2 separate regions of the Homo sapiens genome follow, and region 1 is linked to region 2. Evidence: promoter capture Hi-C in human tissues and cell types (Jung and others, 2019). All regions are on one chromosome and are shown on one strand. Each heading gives the region's core, a stretch centred on a gene start or on the middle of the fragment in contact. The rest is flanking DNA. Distances are from core to core; before and after follow the strand shown.

What was found. The method cuts DNA at HindIII sites, captures the fragments that hold promoters and counts their contacts. A contact is called where the count stands out against the background at its distance.
Region 1: a contact is called between a fragment that was not itself captured here and the fragment with the promoter of POLG2 in region 2, in 1 of the 25 tissues and cell types used here (dorsolateral prefrontal cortex).

What each region holds. Positions count from the first base shown.
Region 1 is chr17:64,711,063-64,716,808 of GRCh38, reverse strand. No RefSeq gene overlaps it. Among named protein-coding and RNA genes, the nearest start is that of SMURF2, 52 kb to the right of the region's middle. RefSeq lists an enhancer at 3,767-3,816. The HindIII fragment of the contact is 7,938 bases long and covers 1-5,746 here.
Region 2 is chr17:64,492,132-64,498,668 of GRCh38, reverse strand. It overlaps POLG2 (DNA polymerase gamma 2, accessory subunit), which reads left to right and starts at 1,615. Exons shown (of 8, transcript NM_007215.4): 1 at 1,615-2,262; 2 at 5,648-5,774; 3 at 5,897-6,002. The coding sequence starts at 1,701. DDX5 (DEAD-box helicase 5) reads left to right here. Exons shown (of 13, transcript NM_004396.5): 13 at 1-415. It also overlaps a transcript of MILR1 not described here. RefSeq lists enhancers at 1,338-1,477, 1,858-1,927, 1,579-2,438. The HindIII fragment of the contact is 4,462 bases long and covers 355-4,816 here.

The DNA of each region.
Region 1 (5,746 bases), core at 1,014-3,513, 220 kb before region 2:
ACTTCCCAGTAGGGGCGGCCGGGCAGAGGGGCTCCTCACTTCCCAGACGGGGTGGCTGCCGGGCAGAGGGGCTCCTCACTTCTCAGATGGGGCGGCTGCCGGGCGGAGGGGCTCCTCACTTCTCAGACGGGGCGGATGCTGGGCAGAGGGTCTCCTCACTTCTCAGACGGGGCGGCTGGGCAGAGACGCTCCTCACCTCCCAGATGGGGTCGCGGCTGGGCAGAGGCGCTCCTCACATCCCAGACGGGGCGGCGGGGCAGAGGCGCTCCCCACATCTCAGACGATGGGCAGCCGGGAAGAGGCGCTCCTCACTTCCTAGATGGGATGGCGGCCGGGCAGAGACGCTCCTCACTTTCCAGACGGGGTGGCGGCCGGGCAGAGGCTGCAATCTCGGCACTTTGGGAGGCCAAGGCAGGCGGCTGGGAGATGGAGGTTGTAGCGAGCTGAGATCACGCCACTGCACTCCAGCCTGGGCACCATTGAGCACTGAGTGAACCAGACTCCGTCTGCAATCCCGGCACCTCGGGAGGCCGAGGCTGGCGGATCACTCGCGGTTAGGAGCTGGAGACCAGCCCGGCCAACACAGCGAAACCCCGTCTCCACCAAAAAAGTACGAAAACCAGTCAGGCGTGGTGGCGCGCGCCTGCAATGGCAGGCACTCGGCAGGCTGAGGCAGGAGAATCAGGCAGGGAGGTTGCAGTGAGCCGAGATGGCAGCAGTACAGTCCAGCTTCGGCTCGGCATCAGAGGGAGACCGTGGAAAGAGAGGGAGAGGGAGACCGAGAGGGAGAGGGGAGAGGGGAGAGGGGAGAGGGGAGAGGGAGAGGGAGAGGGAGAGCCCAGCTAATTTTCATATTTTTAGTAGAGACGGGGTTTCACCTTCTTGGCCAGGCTGGTCTCAAACTCCTGACCTCCTGATGCACCTGCGTCAGCCTCCCAAAGTGCTGGGATTACAGGCGTGAGCCACCACGCCCGGCATCTAGATGTACACTTTCTAGTTTTGAAGGAGACAATTCCAAATGTTAGCAGCTTTTAAAAGACATAACTGCAACCTGTAGGCCAACACTTGAAGCCAACAGGGTGTTGTCTCCAGGCTAACCCTGTAAATGAACTTTCAGCAGCCATTTCACCGCCCTCTAACCCAGCTGCTTCTGGGTGGTGGAACTTTAACTTTACGTCTCTATTAAGTCAAGTCTGAGTTAGCCATTGTAGACTATTCATGCCAACTCCAAAGCCCAAACCTGGGTGAGTGTATCAGTGAATTCAGCCCAATCAAGCCTTTTATTTATTTATTTATTTTTATTTATTTATTTATTTTTTGACACAGATTCTCACTTTTTCACCCAGGCTGGAGTGCAATGGCACGATCTCGGCTCACTGCAACCTCTGCCTCCTGGGTTCAAGCGATTCTCCTGCCTCAGCTTCCCGAGTAGCTGAGACTACAGGCATGCACCCACCACCACGCCCAGCTAATTTTTTGTATTTTTAGTAGAAACAGGTTTCACCATGTTGGCCAGGCTGGTCTCAAACTCCTGAGTTTGAGGAGTTTGAAGAGTGATCCGCCCGCCTCAGCCTCCCAAAGTGCTGGAATTACAGGCACGAGGCTCTGTGCCCAGCCAAGCCTTGTGTTTACCATCTTTAGGCTAACACAATGCTTAGAATCCTCTCCGACACGTGCTCCCAAGACCCTTGTGGATTTGAACTGGCAAGGTCCTGCCACTTCTTTAGTGTATAGACATTCTCTTTCTAGAGCAGGCCTTGTACTGCCCAAGTGGGCTATGTTGGGATCTAACTCTCCTTTTGATGCTGGAGGAATGAAGAGAAGATCTGGTGTCCCTTTTTAGTGAAGCAACTGTCCTAGGTGCAGTCACAGAAGGTTCCTTAGGCAGGGATAAGTTGGTTACCTCTACACGGGAGGACCTGCCTGAACAGACAAGGGAGCTTTGAAGGATTTGAGAATTCAAAAGTGCCAGAGTCTCAGCCTTGTCTGTGACCACTTAGATGCTCCTATTCTAAGTCTCAGGGTCCCACTACGTCCCCACTATGCCCTTTCCTAAGCATTTACTTGGAACTCCTACATGCACAATGAGGCCCTGGGCTGAGTCTTCCATCATATCCACCCTGAAAGTATAGGAGATGAAGGCTCCTTCGAAGATGCCACCAGACCTTTCTTGCTGTCTATTGCATTCTCTGTTCAAGATTCACAGCATTTTTTTTTTTTTTTTGAGATGGATGGAGTTTCGCTCTTGTTGCCCAGGCTGGAGTACAATGGTGTGATCTCGGCTCACCACAACCTTGGCTCACCGCAACCTCTGCCTCCTGGGTTCAAGCGTTTCTCCTGCCTTGGCCTCCCGGGTAGCTGGGATTACAGGCATGCACCACAATGCCCAGCTAATTTTGTATTTTTAGTAGAGTTGTGTTTCTCCATGTTGGTCAGGCTGATCTCGAACTCCTGACCTCAGGTGTACCCTTAAAGGAAATGCATGCCTTCCCCTCCTTTTTATTGCATCTGTAGGCTGCAATGTGGCCACAGTGGGGGGAGCTGTATTGAACTACACAAGCAACAAAATAGAGTCTGAATCCCCAGCAACTAAGAACTGCTAACAGAGAGACAGGAACAGTTTGGGTGTGACACTGGAGTCAGGCAGCCTTGGGTTCAAACACTGATTCTGCTAATCCCTAGCTGTGGACCTCGGGTGAAGAATTTAACCTCACGGTCTTCAGTTTCCTTAGCTGTAAAATGCTGGGAGGATGCAAGGAGCTGTCATAACGAAATTGCCTAGCAGTGTTCATGGTCCAGAGCAGGGTTTTAACGAACAGAAGCTGGCATGTCACCACTCTCTGTCCCTAGGAGCCTTGCCTTTTGCCTCCCTTTTCTGCCTTGATCCGCGCCCCCACCCATCTCTCCTCCCGTTCTTTCTTCACTTTCACTTTCTGGTCTGCCTCTTCCTTAAGCTGGACTCTGTGACTGTAGGTGTGTTTAATGTTTGGCTGCCTTCAGGAGGCCAGCAAGGCTCCCTGGCCAACATTTTACTTTTTTTTTTTTTTTTTTGAGACGGAGTCTCACTCACTCTGTCGCCCAGGCTGGAGTACAGTGGCGCGATCTCGGCTCACTGCAACCTCCGCTTCCCGGGTTCAAGTGCTTCTCCTGCCTCAGCCTCCCAAGTAGCTGAGACTACAGGTGCTCACCACCACGCCCGGCTAATTTTTGTATTTTTAGTAGAGAAGGGGTTTCACCATGTTGGCCAGGCTGGTCTTGAACTCCTGGCCTCAAGTGATCTGCCCACCTTGGCCTCCCAAAGTGCTGGGAATACAGGCAGGAGCCACCGTGCCCGGCCATGGTTCCCTGGCCAACCTTTTACTTATTCCTCTCCCTTCTACAATGATGCTTCTCCACCACATCAAAAGGTCCTCTCCTTTCCTCTTCCACAGCCATTGGCTGCAGGGAAATCGCCAGGGACAGAGCTGCAACTTGCCAGGCCAGCCCTGGAGGCAGCCCTGGAACCCTCTTGCTCCCTCGACCTTCTCCCTCCCCTTTCCCGGGAGGCCCAGGAAAGGGAGCTGGCACCCTGGGCCACTGAGCCAGTGGCAAGGCTCAGCCAGCAGGAGGAGAGCAGCGGATCAGGACTGCCTCAGACCTTTGATAAACCAGGTCTTGGAAGAAGGCCACTTACTCTTCTTTGTGTTTCTCTGTGTGCTGATTCCTGAGATTTGCAGGACATGTTTAATATTTGCTTGGAGAATCTATGAAAAGAAAAAGAAAAACAGAGAGGGAAGGAAACAGGAACCAAAATGCCACTTATCCCATGAGGGCACTGAGGCCTGGGCTCTGAGTCTCTCTGTTGCTGGCGGGGGCCAGGCTTCCTGTGGTGGGAGCGGCAGGCCTCCCTTCTCAGGCGTGGGTTCCACCACGGCTTGAAAGCCCCAGACCACCTCGCCCCTCCCTGGGAACTCAGCCTCTTGTGCAGCCACATAAAGGTAACCAGTGTCTGGTGGCTTGATAGGACAGACTTGTGAGGGACTTCCTGCCTTTTGATGCATGCCATTCCTGAGAGCTGGGCCGGGCCTCTGAAGAGGAGAGGTCCCTTTCAACTTCCTGAGTGTCTCAACGTTCAGACTCTTGGGGTTTGTGGTTAGAGACACTGGTATGAAGATTGTGTTCTATAAAGTATGCCCTCCGGGTCCCATAAAGCTAACAAGGCAAAGCTTTGTGAAAACACCCCCTAACCAAATGGACCAAGAGGGTCTGAAAAGCCCTTGACCTTGGAGCATTTTTTTTTTAATTTTTTGAGACAGGGTCTCGCCCTGTCGCCCAGGCTGGAGTGCAGTGGCATGATCTCAGTTCACTGCAACCTCTGCCTCCTGGGTTCAAGTGATTCTCGTGCTTCAGCCTCCGGAGTAGCTGGGATTATAGGCACACGCCACCATGCCTGGCTAATTTTTGTATTTTTGTAATTTTTTTTTTGTAGAGACGGGGCTTCACCATGTTGGCCAGGCTGGTTTTGAACTCCTGACCTCAAGCAATCCACCCACCTCGGCCTCCCAAAGTGCTGGGATTATAGGCATGAGCCATCATGCCCTGGCCCCTTGCAGCCTTTAGTGAAGAATGAGTGAAGGACTGGAAGGTCCGGGCAGTATGAGGGGATCTGCCCGAGGGAAAGTGTGTTAACAGCAGGACCCTTCTGCGAAGCCACCCGACTCCACTCCAGTACCTCGGAGCTGCCTTCAAATGTAACATGATTCCTCCAGCACTCACGGTTGCTAAGGGCCAGATAGACATTCTTTTCGTTTTTTAATTTAAATTTTTTTTTTTTTGAGACAGAGTCTCACTCTGTCACCTAGGCTGCAGTACAATGGCACCATCATGGCTCACTGTAGCCTCAACCTCCCAGGCTCAAGTGATCCTCCCACCTCAGCCTCCCAAATAGGTGAGATTACAGGTGTGCATCACCACACCCAGCTAATTTTTTAACTTTCTGTAGAGACGGAGGTCTCTCTTTGTTGCCCAGGCTGGTCTTGAACTCCTGGGCTCAAGTGATTCTCCTGCCTTGATCTCCCAAAGTACTGGGATCACAGGTATGAACCACTGCACCTGGCCTCATCCCTGCATTCTAATCCTCTTCTCACAGATGGGGAAACTGAGGCTCAATGAGGTTGAGTGACTGCTCCAAGAGCACACAGAGGTAGGATTGGAGCTCAGAGCTGGCTGACTCCAGATCCAAGATCTTTATGCTTCACCAGACTGCTCCCCACAAGACTATAGGGTGTCAGCAAAGTTGAGAAACACAGGACATACACGCTCACTCTCTCCGCTATTAATTACCTGGCTGAAGTAGTGTTTGTCAGTTTCTCCACTGTAAAGTTACTCTTTTCTTCCCGTTTTCCATACCATCCTCTTTGGTCATTCACCATGTACAACCCACGTTTAAGGAGTGGGAGTTATGAGGTGGAGTATCTACAGGAATTATCTGGAACACTACATGGGAGATTTGTCTTTTGTCTCTATTACTTATTTATTTACTTTTTTTTTAAGTGTATGCTACTGACATTTTCAAATAATATGCTCATTATGTTTTCAGGCAAAGTATCTTTTTTTTGTTTTTTGAGATGGAGTTTCACTGTCTCCCAGGTTGGAGTGCAGTGGTGCAATCTCGGCTCACCGCAACCTCTGCCTCCCAGGTTCAAGCGATTCTCCTGCCTCAGCCTCCCGAGTAGCTGGGATTACAGGCACCCATCACCATGCCTGG
Region 2 (6,537 bases), core at 366-2,865:
TAAATTCTGATTATTAAACTGAGGCTTTAATTGATGTTAATGCCTTATGTCAAATGTAAAGTTAGAATTTGCTAGGGCTGGGATAGGGAGTGATATTTCTAGGACTTAGACATTGAAAACTAATTCAGCCTGTAGTAACCTGGATGGTTTTCAATGGCATGGTTAGTCAAATTCATGGTTTTAAACTTAGAAGCAGCTTTCGGGGGAGAGGGTAGGTTGGAGCATTTATTACATATTTTACTGTTTAATGTCTTAACCGTGGGCCTTTTAATTTGTAAACACTGAAATGATTGTTGGGCTGTGGAAAACATTTACCTATTTACCTTGGAAGTTTTAAAAGACAGTCCACTTTTTAGCATGTGTGTTGTGTCCAGCCTGTGGTCGTCTTAACTAATAAATGTGATTTTTCTCCCCATTCTCTCTTTTTATTTATTTGCGTATAGGCCTTTTACCTGGTGTGAGTTCCTGAATGTGGAAAACACCTGGCAGTAGTACCCAGCTTTGCAGTTAATTACTATCTAGCTGGCCTTTTTTTAAACCCTTGTATACACTTGTAAAGAAGAACTATTTCCTGAACCTGGTACAGCACTTTACTAATGATAAAACTTTACTCCTGAATTACATTAACTCAATTGCTAAGCTGTTACCCCTCTTAATCAGGTAGTAGTTTGGTAGTCTCACAGTGAAATGTAGATTGTTCCTTTTTCCCTGAACCTCTTTAAAGGTTTTCGTAACTGAGGCTGGTATAAGAAATCATGGACTTTGGAATCAAACTTCCTCAGTCTGGGTATACCACTTTTCCACTTTCTGGGTAGGTCTTAAGGTCTCGACCTATTTAAATAGAAACTGCAAAATCAGAAACCTGCAATTTAATCATGAGTCTCTTAATAATAACAGTCACAAGTCTCATTGTTTTGATGAACCCATAGAAGGGGCCCCTGGAAGAAATTGCACGTACGTGGTTTTCTCTGACACCAGGAGGGTTTAAGACATGTCAGGGCCCCTTGGTTTATTTCTAGTGCATTCCCAGGTGAGGCAGATGCTGCTGGCTGGGGACTGCCCTTTGGAAGCCACTGCAATATTTAAAGTGACCATACCACTACCCTAGTCACGAAGCCTATCGCCCCCCTCCCCGGAAGCTTAAGCGTCAAGACAACGGCTCTGGGGTTAGGCCTAGGCCACCTGGCGGCAGCATTTGCCTAGTTAAGAAGGCCTGGGCTTACAAATCACCGTAAAGGACTAAAACTGTTTAAAGGGAAACCAAATGCCAAATTTAGTCCAAGTGCTTGATTGAGGTGTATATAGAAGGTGATTTGGATAATACTGAAGTATTTTAATTTTCTGGACTGCAAAACAGTGGCAGAAGGAAGTGACTCAAGTGGCTACACCACGGTTATAAATAGGTGGGAATAACCTTTACTGGTGCTTACGAGGAAAGAAAAAAGTCAATCTGAAGGGAGGGGCGCGACGCGAACGGCAAGCTAGCAGAGAACCATCCGAGCCGGCGTCCGCCATGGTGGGCGGGGGACGGCTGCGGCCGGAACGCAGACATGCGCTTCCGGGGTGGGGCCTGCCGCCCGCAAGCACGCTCACCTCCGTTGCGCCTGCGCCGTGGCCTCTCCGGATTCTGTTAACGGTAGTGGTGGCTTGTTGGGATCCGTTGAGTGATGGGAGAGTGTGCTCTTTAACTTCGGAGAGAGATGCGCTCTCGTGTAGCCGTCAGGGCCTGCCATAAGGTCTGCAGGTGCCTGTTGTCTGGGTTTGGGGGTCGAGTAGATGCGGGGCAGCCGGAGCTGTTGACGGAAAGGAGTAGCCCCAAAGGAGGGCATGTGAAGTCGCACGCGGAGCTCGAGGGGAACGGCGAGCACCCAGAAGCCCCCGGGTCTGGAGAGGGAAGCGAGGCGCTGTTAGAGATCTGTCAGAGAAGGCATTTCCTAAGTGGAAGCAAGCAGCAGCTTAGCCGGGATTCTCTTCTGAGTGGGTGCCACCCCGGCTTCGGACCCTTGGGCGTAGAGTTGCGGAAGAACCTGGCCGCAGAATGGTGGACCTCGGTGGTGGTGTTCAGGGAGCAGGTATTCCCGGTGGACGCCCTCCACCACAAACCAGGCCCTTTGCTACCCGGGGACAGTGCCTTCAGGTTAGTTTCTGCAGAAACTCTACGCGAAATCTTGCAAGACAAAGAGCTGAGTAAGGAACAGCTAGTAGCATTTCTTGAGAACGTATTAAAAACTTCTGGGAAACTACGGGAGAACCTTCTTCACGGTATGCTTCACGATTTCATGCTTCAAAACAGGTGTCGGGTGGAAAGGCGAGGCAGTCTTGCTGGATCTTGGGGATTGCAACTGGCCCTGTATTCCCATGCAAGGAAGTTAGTTAGTTCTCATCTTTTTGAAGTAGTCGGATATATTAACAGTGCTCTACCCTGGAGAAAACTGGTCCATGGAATCATTGCTGTTCCTTAAACAATCTGTCCGAAGGACCTGGGAACGCTCTCAATTTCACGGGGCAACTTCTGAACACAGTGCTGTCATTTAGTGCAATGTAGTCTAAGTGCATAAGGAACTACACAGACATTTTGAACTTTTCTTAGATTTATTCTAAGTAAAAATGTTGAAATTATAATTCTGAAACTATTTCATGTATATCATAGGATAAATCAAGGCCAGGCGCAGTGGCTCACGCCTGTAATCCCAGCATTTTGCAAGGCAGAGGCGGGTGGATCACCTGAGGTCAGGAGTTCGAGACTAGCCTGGCCAACATGGTGAAACCCCGTCTCTACTAAAAAGACAAAAATTAGCCGGCCGTGACGGCGAGCGCCTGTAATCCCAGCTACTTGGGAGGCTGAGGCAGGAGAATCGCTTGAACCCAGGAGGCAGAGGTTGCAGTGAGCCGAGATCACGCCACTGCACTCCAGCTTGGGTGACAAGAGCAAAACTCCGTCTTAAAAAAAAAAAATTCAAATAGTTGGGTTAGTTGTTATTAGGAACCAAGATATTCATTGTAAAAGAAGAGATAATATGTAAAAGAAGGTACGTATAAACTAATGTTAAATATGGATTGGTAAATTAAATATGAATTGGTAAATTAAAATTGAATATGGGTCTCACTCTGTCACCCAGACTCGAGTGCAGTGGTGTGATCATGGCTCACTGCAGCCTCGACCTCGGGCTCAAGTGAACCTCCCACCTCAGCCTCCCAAGTAGCTGGACTACAGGCACATGCCACCACACCCAGCTAATTTTTGTGTTTTTTGTAGAGATGAGGTTTTGCCATGTTGTCCAGGCTGGTCTTGAACTCCTGAGCTTAAGCAATCCGCCCATCTTGGCCCCCCAAAGTGCTGGGATTACAGGTGTGAGCCACAGTGCCCAGCCTCATGATTTTTAAAAATATATTTCCTAACTTTCTTCGTTTAAAGTTCCTAGAAGCAATGACCCTCAGTAGCAATGAGCACACCTAGTGCCCAGATCCTGGTTCCTTTTTTTTTTTTTTTTGAGACAGAGTCTCGCTCTGCCGCCCAGGCTGGAGTGCAGTGGCACAATCTCGGCTCACTGCAAGCTCCATCTCCCAGGTTCACGCCATTCTCCTGCCTCAGCCTCCCGAGTAGCTGGGACTAGACTACAGGCACTTGCCACCACGCCTGGCTAATTTTTTGTATTTTTAGTAGAGACGGGGTTTCACCTTGTTAGCCAGGATGGTCTCTATCTCCTGACCTTGTGATCCGCCCGCCTCGGCCTCCCAAAGTGCTGGGATTACAGGCGTGAGCCACTGCGCCCGGCCTCCAGATCTTGGTTTCTAAGATGAACCAGTACTGGGAGAAATGGCTGATTCCGGGTCTGGGGTTAGGGAAAGTACAAGGTGAGTTTGAAACACTTTATGGTGCTAAAAAGCAAAGAATTGCTTGAAGACTAATGGGTCATATAAAAAGGTCACAGATGCTGGCTTGAGGAGGGTTGTCACTGGCCACATCTAGGACAAATTGAACATTAAGATACATATTAATGGTAATGGATCATAACACATTGACTAAAATCTAAGAGTCAATAGTATTAATCAAAAACAAATAATTGACCCTAGAGGTCGGGGGCGGGGGGAAGAGGTAGAGAAAGCTTATGTTTTTACAGAAGCTATGGAATAAATGTAGAAGGAAAGATACATTAGAAAATTCACCATTTCATGATATTGCAAACCCCGATATCATTGATTCAAGCAACAGTCATCAATGGATTCTAAAATACTGGGTGAAATACTGTTGGGGAGCAGGATATTATTGGGGAGTGGATATTTACTACCTTAACCAAGTAATCAAATTTGGTGTCTTCAGTAGTGGAATAATTTGATAACATGTTCCTCATGTTATGATGCAATAAGATACACACATCTACTATGTAGTATTTTGCTAAAAATGATTAGCCGAAATTAAATCATAAGGAAACAATCAGACAAATCCCAAATGTGAGACAATCTATGACTAACCTGGACTCACATCAAAAGTCAGTGTCATTAATAGCAAAATTAAGGGGGAAAGGAGGCAAGGGAAATGTTCTAGATTCAAATGGATGAAAGAAACCTACTCAGAATGCAGTACATGAATCTTAACTGGAAAGAGAACAGTAAAAGATATTTGGGGTGAAAATTGGAACAACTAAAATATCACCATATGTTAGATTATATTGTGGTATTATGGTTAACTTTTTATGGTGTTATAATGGTATATAGGAAATATTTTTATTTTTAGAAGATGTATGCGGCAGTATTTGGGAGTGAACAAGAAAAAAATGTGGCAAAATGTTGATAATTGATGAATCTAGGTAAAGGGTATACAAGTGTTCATTGTATATGGATGTTTATTATTTTTTCAACTTTCTTATAGATTTGAAAATCTTTGTCGGGCGCGGTGGCTCACGCCTGTAATCCCAGCACTTTGGGAGGCCAAGGCAGGCAGATCATGAGGTCAGGAGATCGAGACCAACCTGGCTAACACGGTGAAACCCCGTCTCTACTAAAAATACAGAAAAAATTAGCCGGGCGTGGTGGCGGGCGCCTGTAGTCCCAGCTACTCGGGAGGCTGAGGCAGGAGAATGGCATGAACCCGGGAGGCGGAGGTTGCAATGAGCCGAGACCCTGCCACTGCACTCCAGCCTGGGCGACAGAGCGAGACTCCATCTCAAAAAAAAAAGAAAATCTTCAAACTAAAAACTCAGGGTGAAACTACCTAGAATTAAGTGGTGATCTGTCTTTTTTTGTTTTTTTTTAAGACAGGGTTTCACTCTGTTGCCCAGGCTGGAGCACAGTGGCACCATCCCAGCTCACTGCAACCTTGGCCTCCCAGACTAAAGTGATCCACCTCCCAGCTTTCCAAGTAGCTGGGACTACAAGGCACACACCACCATGCCTGGCTTATTTTTGTATATTTTTAGAGATGGGGTTTTGCTGTGTTGCCCAGTCTGGTCTCAGAACTCCTGAGCTCAAGCAATCTGCCCACCTCGACCTCCCAAAGTGCTGGGATTATAGGCGTGAGCCACCAAGCTTAGCCAACATCTGTCTTTATGCTGTGTTAACGTTATTACTACTATTAATGTGTCTATTGACAAAAATGATTTGGGTTTGTGGACTAGATGTATACAATGATTGATTTATCTTTTGACAGGTGCCTTGGAACACTATGTTAATTGCCTGGATCTGGTAAACAAGAGGCTACCTTATGGCCTTGCTCAGATTGGAGTGTGTTTTCATCCTGTTTTTGACACTAAGCAGATACGAAATGGTGTTAAAAGGTATAAAAAGTGGCAAATAACTTGGCCTTGTATTTAAATAGTCAAAAACCAGTCATTTCCACTTGGGATAAATTATATAATTTTCAGATAAGCTAACTTCCTGATACGTTTTATATCTAAAGTATTGGTGAGAAGACTGAAGCTTCGTTAGTATGGTTTACTCCTCCGAGAACTTCAAACCAGTGGCTTGATTTCTGGTTACGTCATCGACTCCAGTGGTGGAGAAAGGTACTGCAATAATTACCTTTAATTTAATAGTTAATACATAAATTGTCTTAATGTGTCAGTGGTAATTCTTCTGACATACAAGAAATTATATTTGATGTATGTAGCTATTAATATATTATACAAATACAAAAACTCTTTGTAACAATTTTCATTGTTCTAGATTACAAAGTTACTTTGGTAAAAACATTTGTTGGGCTCAGATGTGTTTGTTAATTAGCCTTTCTGTGTAAGGTAAAATTCAAAGCCCTCACCTAGCATTCCTGGCTGATGTAGAGTTTGACCCTTGACCATTGTCACAGCTTCAGCTTTTGCTACCTACCTCCATGAACTTTCCATATTAGTCAAAATGGCTCTGTAATTGATGATCAAGTTTTAGTACTCACTGAAAAAAAAAGAGTTGAAGTAAGCATTTTTGTCTTGCCATGTGTTATGTTACCATTTCCCGACTCAAACATCCCCAAATACCCATTTAAACTGTATGAAATAATCACGAGTCATCAAGAACTTCGCAGAAGGGTAAGAATGAGGACTATGT